Regions from separate parts of the Homo sapiens genome. Here region 1 is linked to region 2. Evidence: promoter capture Hi-C in human tissues and cell types (Jung and others, 2019). All regions are on one chromosome and are shown on one strand. Each heading gives the region's core, a stretch centred on a gene start or on the middle of the fragment in contact. The rest is flanking DNA. Distances are from core to core; before and after follow the strand shown. Region 1 overlaps ZFP2 (ZFP2 zinc finger protein). Region 2 holds the start of ZNF354C (zinc finger protein 354C).

What was found. Contacts are between HindIII fragments. The study calls those that stand out against the background at their distance.
Region 1: a fragment that was not itself captured here is called in contact with the fragment with the promoter of ZNF354C in region 2 in 2 of the 25 tissues and cell types used here (H1 embryonic stem cells and dorsolateral prefrontal cortex).

What each region holds. Positions count from the first base shown.
Region 1 is chr5:178,917,803-178,923,689 of GRCh38, forward strand. The region is part of intron 4 of ZFP2 (ZFP2 zinc finger protein); the gene reads left to right. It also overlaps the pseudogene PIGFP1. Among named protein-coding and RNA genes, the nearest start is that of ZNF454-DT, 20 kb to the right of the region's middle. The HindIII fragment of the contact is 5,302 bases long and covers 1,196-5,887 here.
Region 2 is chr5:179,057,275-179,063,149 of GRCh38, forward strand. ZNF354C (zinc finger protein 354C) reads left to right here and starts at 3,099. Exons shown (of 5, transcript NM_014594.3): 1 at 3,099-3,392; 2 at 4,741-4,821. The coding sequence starts at 4,795. RefSeq lists an enhancer at 3,418-3,953. The HindIII fragment of the contact is 19,620 bases long and covers 1-5,875 here.

The sequences.
Region 1 (5,887 bases), core at 2,597-5,096, 140 kb before region 2:
TTCGTTACTAGGAAAACTGATCTAAAATACTATAATGAATGTAGAAGTATTCAAAAAGTTCATTCTTCCTTAAATAAGACAGGCCCACTGCTGCCTCAGGGCCTTAGCACTGGCTGTTACCCTGTCTGGGAAGCTTTCCCTTAGATAGTCCTATGACTTCCTCTCTTAGTCCCTTAAAGTCTTGGTTTAAATGTCACCTTTTCAGTGAGGCCTTTTCTTATGACCCACTTTAAAATTGCAGACGTTTTCTCTCACCCATCATGTTCCCTATATCCATTTAAATGCTTTTATTGTTTTTCTGTAAGGTATACCACTTACTTATTGTCTCCCTTTCTCTTGCTAAAATATGTTTCATAAGGGCAGACATTTTTTCTGTTTATTGCTATATCCTGAGCACCCAGAACAGTACCTGGCTTGATAAGTATTTATTGAATGAATGATTTATCGTGTTCATAAAACCAGTTTGACTGCTATATGGAGAGAATGCATTGTAGGGTAGCAAGAGTTTAAATAGAAAATCCAGACAGGTGGGTATAGAAATAGTCTAGTTGGGTGTTAGGAGTAGCTAACTGTTACCCAGAGGATGGAAGAAATATAAAAGGAGAAAATAAATAAATCAACTTGCCCTTTTCAAGAAGCATGGGACCTGCTTGCTGCCCAGTCCCATCCCACACACCCATACTGTGCAAGCTCCCAGCCTCTGCTATGGCTTGTGCCAGCCGTGTGTACTAAGGGGTCTGTGACAGACCAGACACCTTGGTCTGGAGACTCTAGTTCATGTCCTGGTGAGTATCAGAGTTATATAAATCCTATAAGTTAACGAGTGAAGGCAGAAAAAGCATTCCAAGCCGTTAAGGGAGTATTGAGTATTTCCAGTATTATTACTCAAAAGTCTTGTTTAGGAAAAAAGGAAAGGCAGAGAGAACTGTATGTTGCTTAATGTAAAATAGTAATGATGGTAATGATAACAGCTAATAATCACTGGATCCTTATTACATCCAAGCATAATGCTTTGTGCTTTATAAAGTCCTTATTTAATGAGATAGTAAAATGTCAAGGATCTGAAACATTGTTTAATCCTGGAAGAGCTACAGTTTCTGACCTATACTGCTCAGGCTCCAAGCCCACAATACTCCATCAATTCTGAGTAAAGCCCCCCTAACCGTTTTTCATTTTGTAGGTAGACAGTTATATAATCTGGGAAAAATTAAAAATTTCCCCCCATCTCAGTGGCCATATTGGTCACACTTCTGGAATAACATTAAATAGTAGTAGTAATAGTAAGCACCTTTTCCTTGGTTCTGTTATTAGAGAGAATTCTTCTAGGGCTTTATTTGTATTCTTGGTGCAATGCTAATATTTTTGTTTTTGAACACGAATGGATGAAGGATACCAGTTGAATACTTCTGAACCATCTATCAGGTTGATCATATGACCTATGACCTATTAATATGATAGTAATAGATTCTTAATAGTGAACCATTCTTTATTTCCTGGATAAATCCTTCTTCGTGCTAGTTATACTCTTGATGTCTAAGTAACCAGCATTGTTTAAAAACATTAAGAGTTCTGGCTCTGATATTACAATGACTTAACAGGGTGGGTCTGCTGGTGACAAATTCTCTTAGTTTTCTTTCATATGAGAATGTCTTTATTTCACCTTCATTCCTGAAAGATTTTTGCTAATATAGAACTCTAGGTTTATGGTTATTTCTTTCAGCACTTTGAAATAATTAATCCACTTCCTTCTGGCATCCATGGTTTCTGATGAGAAATTCAGTTATTCACATTTTTGCCCTGCCACCAAGTAGTGTATCAATTTTCCCTGGTTGCTTTCAAGATTGTTTTTTACTTCCATTTTTAGAATTTAATTATGGCTGGGCATAGTGGTTCACACCTGTAATCTCAGCACTTTGGGAGGTGAAGGCAGGTGGATCACTTGAGGCCAGGAGTTTGAGACTGGCCTGGGCAAAACATGGCGAAACCCTTTCTCTGCAAAAAATACAAAACTACCTGGGTGTGGTAGTGCATGCCTGTAGTCCCAGCTACTTGGGAGGCTGAGGAGGCACGGGAATCGCTTGAACCCAGGAGGTGAAGGTTGCAGTGAGCCAAGGTTGTACCACTGCACTTCAGCCTGGGCGACAGAGTGGACTCTGTCTCAAAAGAAAAAAAAAAAAATTTGATTATGATGCATCTGGGCGTGGATTTCTTTGGGTTTACCCTGTTCCTATAGGTTGAAATCTTCTGTCAAATATAAGCTTTTAACCATGATTTCTTCAAATACTTTTTCAGCACCAAACATTTTCTCCTTCTCTGGGACTCCAGTGAGACATATATGAGATCTTTTGTTGTTGTCCCATACATCCCTGAGGTGCTCTTCATCTTTATTTTTTCTCAATCTTTTCTCTCTGTGTTGTTCAGATTGAATAATTTCTTTTAATCTGTCTTCAAGTTAATTCTTTCCTTTTTTCACCCTTCTGCTGTTGGACCTATTTAGCAAGATTTCTATTTTCTATATCAATAAATAAGTGTTTATATATTAAAAATACTGTAGGGCTAGGTGTGGTGGCTCACACCTGTAATCCCAGCACTTTGAGAGGCCAAGGCTGGTGGGTCACGAGGTTAGGATTTCAAGACCAGCCTGGCCAACATAGTGAAACCCCGTCTTTCCTAAAAATACAAAAATTAGCCGGGCATGGTGGCGTGTACCTGTAGTCCCAGCTACTCAGGAGGCTGAGGCAGGAGAATCGCTTGAACCCGGGAGGTAGAGGTTGCAGTGAGTCGAGATCGCGCCACTGCACTCCAGCTTGGGCAACAGAGTGAGACTTCGTCTCAAAAAAAAAAAAAAAATTGTATATTTTTCACTTCCAGAATTTCCACTTAGTTCTTTTTATATGCTCATTTTCTTTGCTGAGATTTTATTTCCATTTCTTTAGAGTGTGTTCACTCTGACTTGTTGGAACAAGTAAGGCAGATGCTTTAAAGTCCTTGTAAGATAATTGTATCATCTCACTTGATGTCTGTTGGTTATCTTTTCCCATGTAAGTTGAAATGTTCCTGGGTCTTTATATTCTCAGTGACTTCAAAAGGTATCATGGGCATTTAGAATATTATGTTATAAAACTCTATGTCTTCTTGAAATCCAACAGAAAATGTTGATATTTCTGTGTTAGCAGGCAGTCAACCTGGTTGAGCTCAGACTACAAAGTCCAACCAGCTTTCTGTGGGTTGTGGTTTCTGTGTCAGTTTGGTTGTCAGAGACTTCACATTGTTGCTTGAATCTTGCTCACATGTGTGTCACTCTGTGGCCAGTATGGAATTTAAGCAGCGGTCCCTCTTATTCTCAAAGTCCACGTGTGCTGCTTAGGGGGTCAGATTCATGCATATGTATCTCGCAGGTGAGCCCAGGAGTTCTTAAATAACTTCCAAGGTCATGTTCCCGAATTCTCCCCTGTCTATGTCCGCAGTAGTTTCAGCTTCCCTGTGGCTGTCCTTTTGACTCTTCTGGCTACAAGGCAGGGGCCTGTAGTTGCCCCGCTCTGCTGTGACTTCCAGTGACCATCCCTATGTAGAGCCAAGCAGCAGGAGGACAAAGAAAAGATGATGAAGTGGGGCTTCTTGCTACCCTTCTTGGGACCACAGATCCCTTGCTTGGGGAAGAAGGACCCTCTCCTCATGTTTTTGAGCTCCTGTCAGCTTGCAGTGGCACTGCTGTTGCAGCAGCCACCAGAGGATTGCTTAAGTGCTGGGGTGCAATAGAACAGAGAAAGGGGAAAAAATAGGCAATTCCCCCTGCTCTCTCTAAGCATTAGAAGTCCTTTTCCTGCTCCATGAACCGGCCCTAGAGCTTTTCCTGGAGAACCTCCTCTGCCTTCTCCTGCCTCAGTGCCTGTTTTCAGATGGCTGTATAAGTTTAGTACAGAAGACAGCTGAGGAAAAAAAGGAAGCTCACCACTGGTTCAGTGGTACTTTGGATTTTGGTTCTCTTCCCCAATTCACCTGCTACTGTTTACTTCTCAGGGCCTTCAAATAATTGCTTCATGCTTTCTGTTCGGGTTTATCAGTGGAAGAGACATGGTGGAATAGGCCTACTCCACCTTATCAGGAAGAGGATCCTCTACTTTGGTTTTAATTTGATCTTTGTCTAACTTCTTAAGGTGGAAACATAGGTCACAGATTATGGGCCATTCTTATTTACTGTAAAAACATTTAAAGCTCCTTCCGCAGGCAGGAGAGTCAGCTAGCCACCCAAGAAAACATCATGAAAGATACCGATATCAAGAGACTACTGTATACCCATCTTTTATGCATATTTTCAATTATCCTAAGTGTCTTCATTCCATCACTCTTCTTGGAGAACTCCTCAATATTGGAAACACACTTGACATGGTTGTGCGTCTGTTCTGGTTTTGTAACTGCTGTCAGTCTAGTACTATATTTAGTAGTGAAACCAAATACATCCTCTAAAATAAGTTCATTATCATACAAGGTAACCAGATTTTTGAAATGCTGTATCTACTTTCTTATGTCTTGTTTCTCCTTTCATGTAATTTTTGTTCTATATGGAGCACCACTAATAGAGTTGGCATTGGAAACATTTTTATTTGCAGTTATTTTGTCTACTTTTACTATTGTGCCTTACTTATGTTTGTTAGGACCAAACCTCAAAGCATGGCTAAGAGTTTTCAGTAGAAATGGAGTTACATCCATATGGGAGAATAGTCTCCAGATCACTGCAATGTCTAGTTTTGTAGGAGCATGGCTTGGAGCACGTCCTATTCCTTGACAGGGCAAGAGCATGGCAGGTATGGCCCATCTCCTGTACGCTTGGAGCGACCTTTGTCCACGTGGCTGGCCTTGTTATTTCACCACTCTGGATATACTGGAATAGAAAGCAACTTACATACAAGAACAATTAACTGGAGCAAAGGGAGATATTTCTTTGTGCAGATTCTGTAAGGGCTGTGCAGAAATGTGTGTGGTCAAAGCCAAGCAGTTCCATTTACAGCACTGTTTTTTATGTAGTTACAACATGATGTGATTGTAGCTTTTTAAACTATGAAACCCCTGAGAGATTGTACCTTCTAGTTGAAATAAAGTATTTATAATAGAAAAAAAAATATTGAAAGCTATATAATTTCCTCTAAGCATTGCTTTGGTTGTAACACATAAAATATTATCTCATTCCATTGTGATTTCCTCTTTGACCTCTCAGAATTTACAAATTCACTGCTTAATTTTCAAACATGAGGATTTCCCAGATAGTTGAAATGTAATTCTTTAGGTGTCTTTTTTTAATTGTAATGTTTTGTGTTTGTGTGTATATGTGTACAATATACGTAACATAAAATTTGCCATTTTAGCCATTTTTAGTGTATCATTTGGAGGCATTTAAATACATTCACATTGTTGTGGAACCAGCACCGCCATCCGTCTCCAGAACTTTTTCATCTTTCCTAATGAAAACTCTATATCCTTTAAGCAATAGCATCCCATTCCCCGCTTCCGCCAGCCCCTGGTAACCTCCGCTTTCTGCCTCTATGAATTTGACTACTCTAGATACCTCATATGAGTTGAATCATGCAATATTTGTCTTTTCGTGACTGGCTTATTTCACTTAGCATAATATCTTCGAGGTTCATCCTTGAAGTGGATTCAGCATGTCACTGCCAGTCTTTTTATACCCAAACTAACTTCCCCATTCATGTTTATTTTTTATTCAAATTGAATATTTAAATAATAGCAGAAATGGTTTAGGAGTACTGTTATTACTGAATCTTCATATTTAAGACTGTGTTTTGCCTTTCTCTGCACATGTGTGGAGTGCTGACCATGTGGAGTTCTTGAGTCACATCAGTTCTTGCAGGCATGGCCCCATTGTCTTTCG
Region 2 (5,875 bases), core at 1,849-4,348:
CAATGTACAATTGAAACTATACAATTGTATATTGTATGTATATAGCAGATTACCTTTATATACATACATATTGTATATTGTATGTATATAGCAGGTTGTCTTTTTATAAAGATTTAAAATGTTGCAAAAGTAAACAATGTTTAGGGACACATGCATGTGGAGTAATTATCAAACAAAACAAAGGAATGCTGAAAGCAACTCAGGAAAATGACTTGGGAGCACTGTGAACAAGGCTTCCAAATTTTGGGTAAATTTCTCTTTGGTAACCCAAGTGTTGGGTATGTGGGTATTTGTTTTATTATTATTAAACCATGGGCCTCGCACAGTGGCTCATGCCTCTAATCCCAGCACTTTGGGAGGCTGAGGTGGGCAGATCACGAGGTCAAGAGATCAAGACCATCCTGATCAACATGGTGAAACCCCATCTCTACTAAAAATACAAAAATTAGCTGGGCATGGTGGTACGTGCCTGTAGTCCCAGCTACTCAGGAGGCTGAGGCAGGAGACTGCTTGAACCTAGGAGGTAGAGGTTGCAGTGAGCCAAGGTCGCGCCACTGTACTCCAGCCTGGCGACAGAGTGAGACTCCATCTCAAAATAAATAAATAAATAAATAAATAAAAACAAAAATCTGTGCCTATGAATACATTATCTCCTGTGTATGGTACACATTAAAAGAATTTAAAATAACATAACTATCTTGTGGTTTTGATTTGCATTTCTCTGATGATTAGTAATGTTGAACATTTTTCATATACCTGTTGGCCATTTGAATGTCTTTTTGAGAAATGTCTATTCAGGTCCTTTGCCTATTTTTTTTTTTTTTTTTTTTTTTGAGGCAGGGTCTCACTCTGTCACCCTGGCTGGAGTGCAGTGGTGCTATTTTTGCTCACTGCAGCCTCAACCTCTGGGTTCAAGCAATCCTCTGCGCTCAGCCTCCTGAGTAGCTGGGACTACAGGCCTGCACTGGCATGCCTGGCTAATTTCGTTTATTTTTTGTAAAGACAAGGTCTCACTATGTTGCTGAGGCTGCTCTGGAACCCCTGGGCACGAGTGATCCATCCACTTCCGCCTCCCAAAGTGCCGGGATTACAGGCATGAGTCATTGTGCCCAGCCCTTTGCCCATTTTTAATGGGACTCTTTGTATACTGTTGTGGTTTTTTTTGTTTTGTTTTTTCTTTGAGATGGCATCTCGCTCTGTCACCCAGGCTGGAGTGCAGTGGCATGATCTGAGCTCACTGCAACCTCCACCTCCCAGGTTCAAGGAATTCTCCTGCTTCAGCCTCCCAAGTAGCTGGGGTTTCAGGCATGCACCACCACGCCTGGCTATTTTTGCATTTTTAGTAGAGACGGGGTTTCGCCACATTGGCCTGGCTGGTCACAAACCTGTTATTTGAATTCTTTGTATATACTGGGTATTAGTCCTTTGTTGGATGAGTAATTTATAAATATTTTCTCTCAAGTTGTTGCTTCACTCTGTTGTTTCTTTTGCTGTGCAGACACTTTTTAGATTAATATAGTTGTTTATTTTTCTTTTTGTTGCCTGTGCTTTTGAGGTCTTAGCCACAGACCTCAAAAGCACAGGCAAGAAAAAGAAAAATCTTTGCCTAGATCAATGTCCTGAAGAGTTGTCCCGATGTTTCCTTCTATCAGTTTTATAGTTTGGAGTCTTTAAATCTTTAATCTATCTGGAGTTGACTTTTATATATGTTGAGAGAGAAGGGGTCCAAGTTCATTCTTCTGCATATTATTATCCAGTTTTCCCCAGAACCATTTATTAAAGACGTAGTCCTTTCCTCATTGTGTGTTCTTGGCACCTTTGTTGAAAATCAGTTGGCTGTAAATGGGTGCACTGATTTCTGGGTTCTCTTATTCTGTTCCATGGGGGGGTGTGTGTGTCTATTTTTATACAAATATCATGCTCTTTTGGTTACTAACACTTTCTAATTAGATATAAGCTCACTCCAGTTAGAATGATTATTATTATAAAGACAAAAAAATGACAGATGCCAGTGAGGATTTGGGGAAAAGGGAACTCTTATACACTATTGGTGGGAATGTAAATTAGTACAGCCACTATGGAAAACAGTGTGGAGGTTTCTCAAAAAACTAAAAATGGAACTACCATACAATCCAGCAACCCTACTACTGGTAAAGGGAGAGAAATCAGTATATGAAAAGGATACCTGCACTCACGTTTGTCACTGCACTATTTGCAGTAGCCAAGATATAGACTCAACCTACCAGCAATAGATGAATGGGTAAAGAAAATGTCATACATAGACACAATGGAATACTATTCTGCCATAAAAATGAATGAAATAATGTATTCACAGCAACATGGATGGAGCCGAAGGTCATTATGTTAAGTGAAATAAGCCAGGCACAGAAAGACAAGTACTGCATGTTCTCACTTATATTCGGGAGTTAAAACACTTGATCTCATGGACATAGACAACAGGAGGATAGATACCAAAGGCCAGGAAGGCCAGAAAGGAAGGGGAATGAAGAGAGGTTGGTTATGGGTACAAACATACAGTTAGATGGAAGAAATAATTTCTAATATTTAATAGCAGACTAGGGTGACTATACTTGGCAATAATATTGTGTATATTTCAAAGTAAATCGAAGAGAGGGCTTGAAATGATACCAACGCATAAAAATGATAAATGCTTAAGGTGATGGATACCCCAAATACTGTGACTTGATGATCATTACAGTCTATGCACGTAACAAGCACTCACATGGACCCTATACATTATGTAAATTATTTTGTATCAACAGAAAAGTAATCACAACCAGCGGTGGGAGCTACAGCACACTGATCCTCCTAAATGAATCTAATTTCCGGTTTTGTTTTTTCAAACTACTCCGCTTGCTTAACAAGTGCGCGGGCTGTAGGCAGCACGGCCAGCAGCTGGAGACCTCCTGCCTCGTGTGCGGCGTGCGTACTCCCTCGCACTGCAGCCCCTCCGCGCACTGTCGCCTTTGAGAGCTCTCGTTGGCGGAGGCGGTTCCTCTCCCGGAGTTCGCAGCGCGCACCGCGGCGTCCCCTGGGAAGTGTAGTCGGCGTGGGGCCGGAGGCATGCCGGGAGTGGTAGTTCTCCCGCGGTTGGCGGGGTTTCGGGGACAGCTCGCGGCCTTTCGGGGGTTCTCCTGGCTTGGGCCATCCAGGCTTGGCTAGGATTGCCGGCCTGGGGTTGAGGCGCTCGCAGTGGTCTCTTCCGGGCCGGGGTGGATCCGGGCCTCTCCAGCGAGTGGGCGGCGTGCAGCCTCGTCTGGGCTTCTGGGACCAGCCCTACGCGGCTCGGGCCCCTTGGCCACTGGGTCCCGGGGCGCCGTCCGCGAGCGGCCTGGACTGCCGGAGACCCGCGGGAGGGAGCGCCTCGCCAGGTGAGCTGGGTGCGCCGGGCCGCTGGGGTGGGGATGCCAGCCTTTTGTCGTTGTTCATTCTGCGATTTTCTTCTGTGCATTTTCTTCTGAGTAACGGAAATAATAAAAGCAATAGCTGATGCCCGCCGAGAGCGCTCGGGTGCCAGGCACCAGACTAGCGCATCGCCCGAACGAACTCCGCGCATCCCTGCTAACAGATAGGGTGGCGGTACGCTGTTCCCGCTCTGTCAGGAGGAGACCGAGGCAGAGTGGCGAGGTCATTGCCCCAGATGTAACTGGGGCCTGGGGCTAGGATCAGGATTGCCTTCCCGGCCCTTATGACTTTGGGCAGGTCACGACCTCCTGGTTTTCAGTCTCCGTAACATCTGTAAATGTGAAGATTGAAAATACTGCGTGGAAAACACTCACCGCTTCCTGGGAGGAGGTGCGCTTCGTCGCGTAACCGAGGCCTTGTGTGGCAGCTTCCCCTGGGCTGGTCGAGGCACCCGCTGGAACTGGCCTGGCAGAGCCCCAGGTTGGCTCCATGCTAGGGGGCACCCTGAGTCGCCGCTGCAGATCGCGGGCCTGGAGGCCCTCACACTTGCCCGGCTGCCCCAGGCAGCCTCTTCCCTTGCTTTCTGTGGGGCGGGCACGGTTTCCACCTCTCCCACCTGGGGTTGGTGTTTGGGCAGCGACGGCTGTTTCTGGTTGTGGGTGCCATTAGAGGCGGCACCTGTGGAGTATTAGGAGGGACAGCAAAGCTCTGGCTTTGGGTGGGGACAGTGCCTTAATCCTGTTACCTTGGGTAAAGTGTGGTAAGGCCCGACGAAGATCTAGTAAAGAGGCTGGGAAAGCTGAGTGGTTGGATTATGCTCACAGTTTCTTGGGGAGAACACAGCACTCCACGGAAGGACCACTCAGGGCGAGCAGTGGGGTCTGTCACCAGGGTAGGGATGCGGGGAAGCCTCTTTATCGTGGCTACCATAGGGAGGAAAGGGTGAGGCAGGGCAGGCAGGATGAGGATCAGCTAGCTAGGCTGGGAAGTGGCGCCCCAGGAGACTGGATATTCATTGCGACTTTTAGGTGTGCAGTTCAAAGCTAGCGAAGGACTCCAGACATCCATGGGGGAGTCACGGTTTGCCTAGAGGTAGCTGAGAGGCCCGAAGGTGGAAGTTAAAGAGTCCAAGTGCAGAAATAGAAGTAGGGTTGGCACATTGCCCTAGTAAACTAGTAAACACTCTTCTTGCTTTACATCATTACGGGGGGTGGCTTTTTTGAGACCTGATGGACATTATGGGCGGTTGTAACTTCCTCTCTCCAAGCCATCTCCTGACGCCAGGGTTCCTCTTGACACCTTTTTCCTCTGCAGACCCACCGTGTCCACACTCTGCTCTCCCTGGGCAGGAAGACTGAGGAGGAAGGGATGGCTGTGGATCTGCTGTCTGCTCAGGTGAGAGTGAGTGAAGGTTGTCTTTTTCATCAGTTGGCTTCTGGATTCAGAGATGGTAGACATGTTTCCAGACTTTGTCCAGGTACTTTTTGGTCCAACCAAAACGATGAAGAATCCGGAACCTCAAAAGTTTTTCCCAGTGTCTTGGGCTTAGCAAGGGGCTGCTGAGGAATGTGCCTCTTTTGTCCCGAGACTACTCTTAATTCACCCCGCTCACTCTGTGATCCACATTTGAGGCAGTTCTGAGCATATGCTTCCCACTACACTGGTGCTGGGTGGGGAGAATGGGGCATGAAGCAGTCTCTGTCTTCATAGAGGATATAGTCACACTTGGGGCTAAGATGTGGAAGGGCCGGAAGACAGCCTCCACAAGCATTTATTGAGCCCTATGTACAGGATCCTGTGCAGCACACGGGATGGAAAGAGGAAAGCTGTCATTTCCATCTTCTGGGAGTTCGTGGTATCGATCTTAGGAAACATGATTAAATGTTCAGGGGAAATATCCCAGAAGTGGGGGCATTCTGAGTTTATACTGGAGGCCAGGACTGATATTGGTGCTTAGAGAAGACTAAGGGCATCCCAGAAGGAGTTCAGCGTGGTTTGGGCTTTGAAGCCCAGAAGGAGGCAGGCCTGGGGCCTTCCCCTCCCAGTGCAGCGGGGATGTTAAGCTGTCCAAATGTCCATCTCACCTGTCTGATTGATTCCTCTATTTCCTTCTCTGATTCTTTTCTTTTTTCTCTGCTAGTTTAGCCTCTCTACCTGGGCTCTTTTTTCTTGTTCTTTCCCCATTTAAGATCCATTTTCATTACTTTAACCCTCAGCGTTCTGAGTATCTTCCCCAAATCTGTCCTCAGGCCTGACCTTTTTCCTAGCATTCCTGTCTGTCATTCCGACGTGGAAGTCCCATCTTTCCTTCAACACCAGCTCCCTTTCCTCTAGTCCCCTCCCTTCTGTGCATTTTTTCTGCCATACTCCAAAGCCTATTCTTCATTGACTCCTTTTCCAATAGCCCATAGGCTGGAAATGTGGACTCAGGAGCTTGACTTCATGGCTT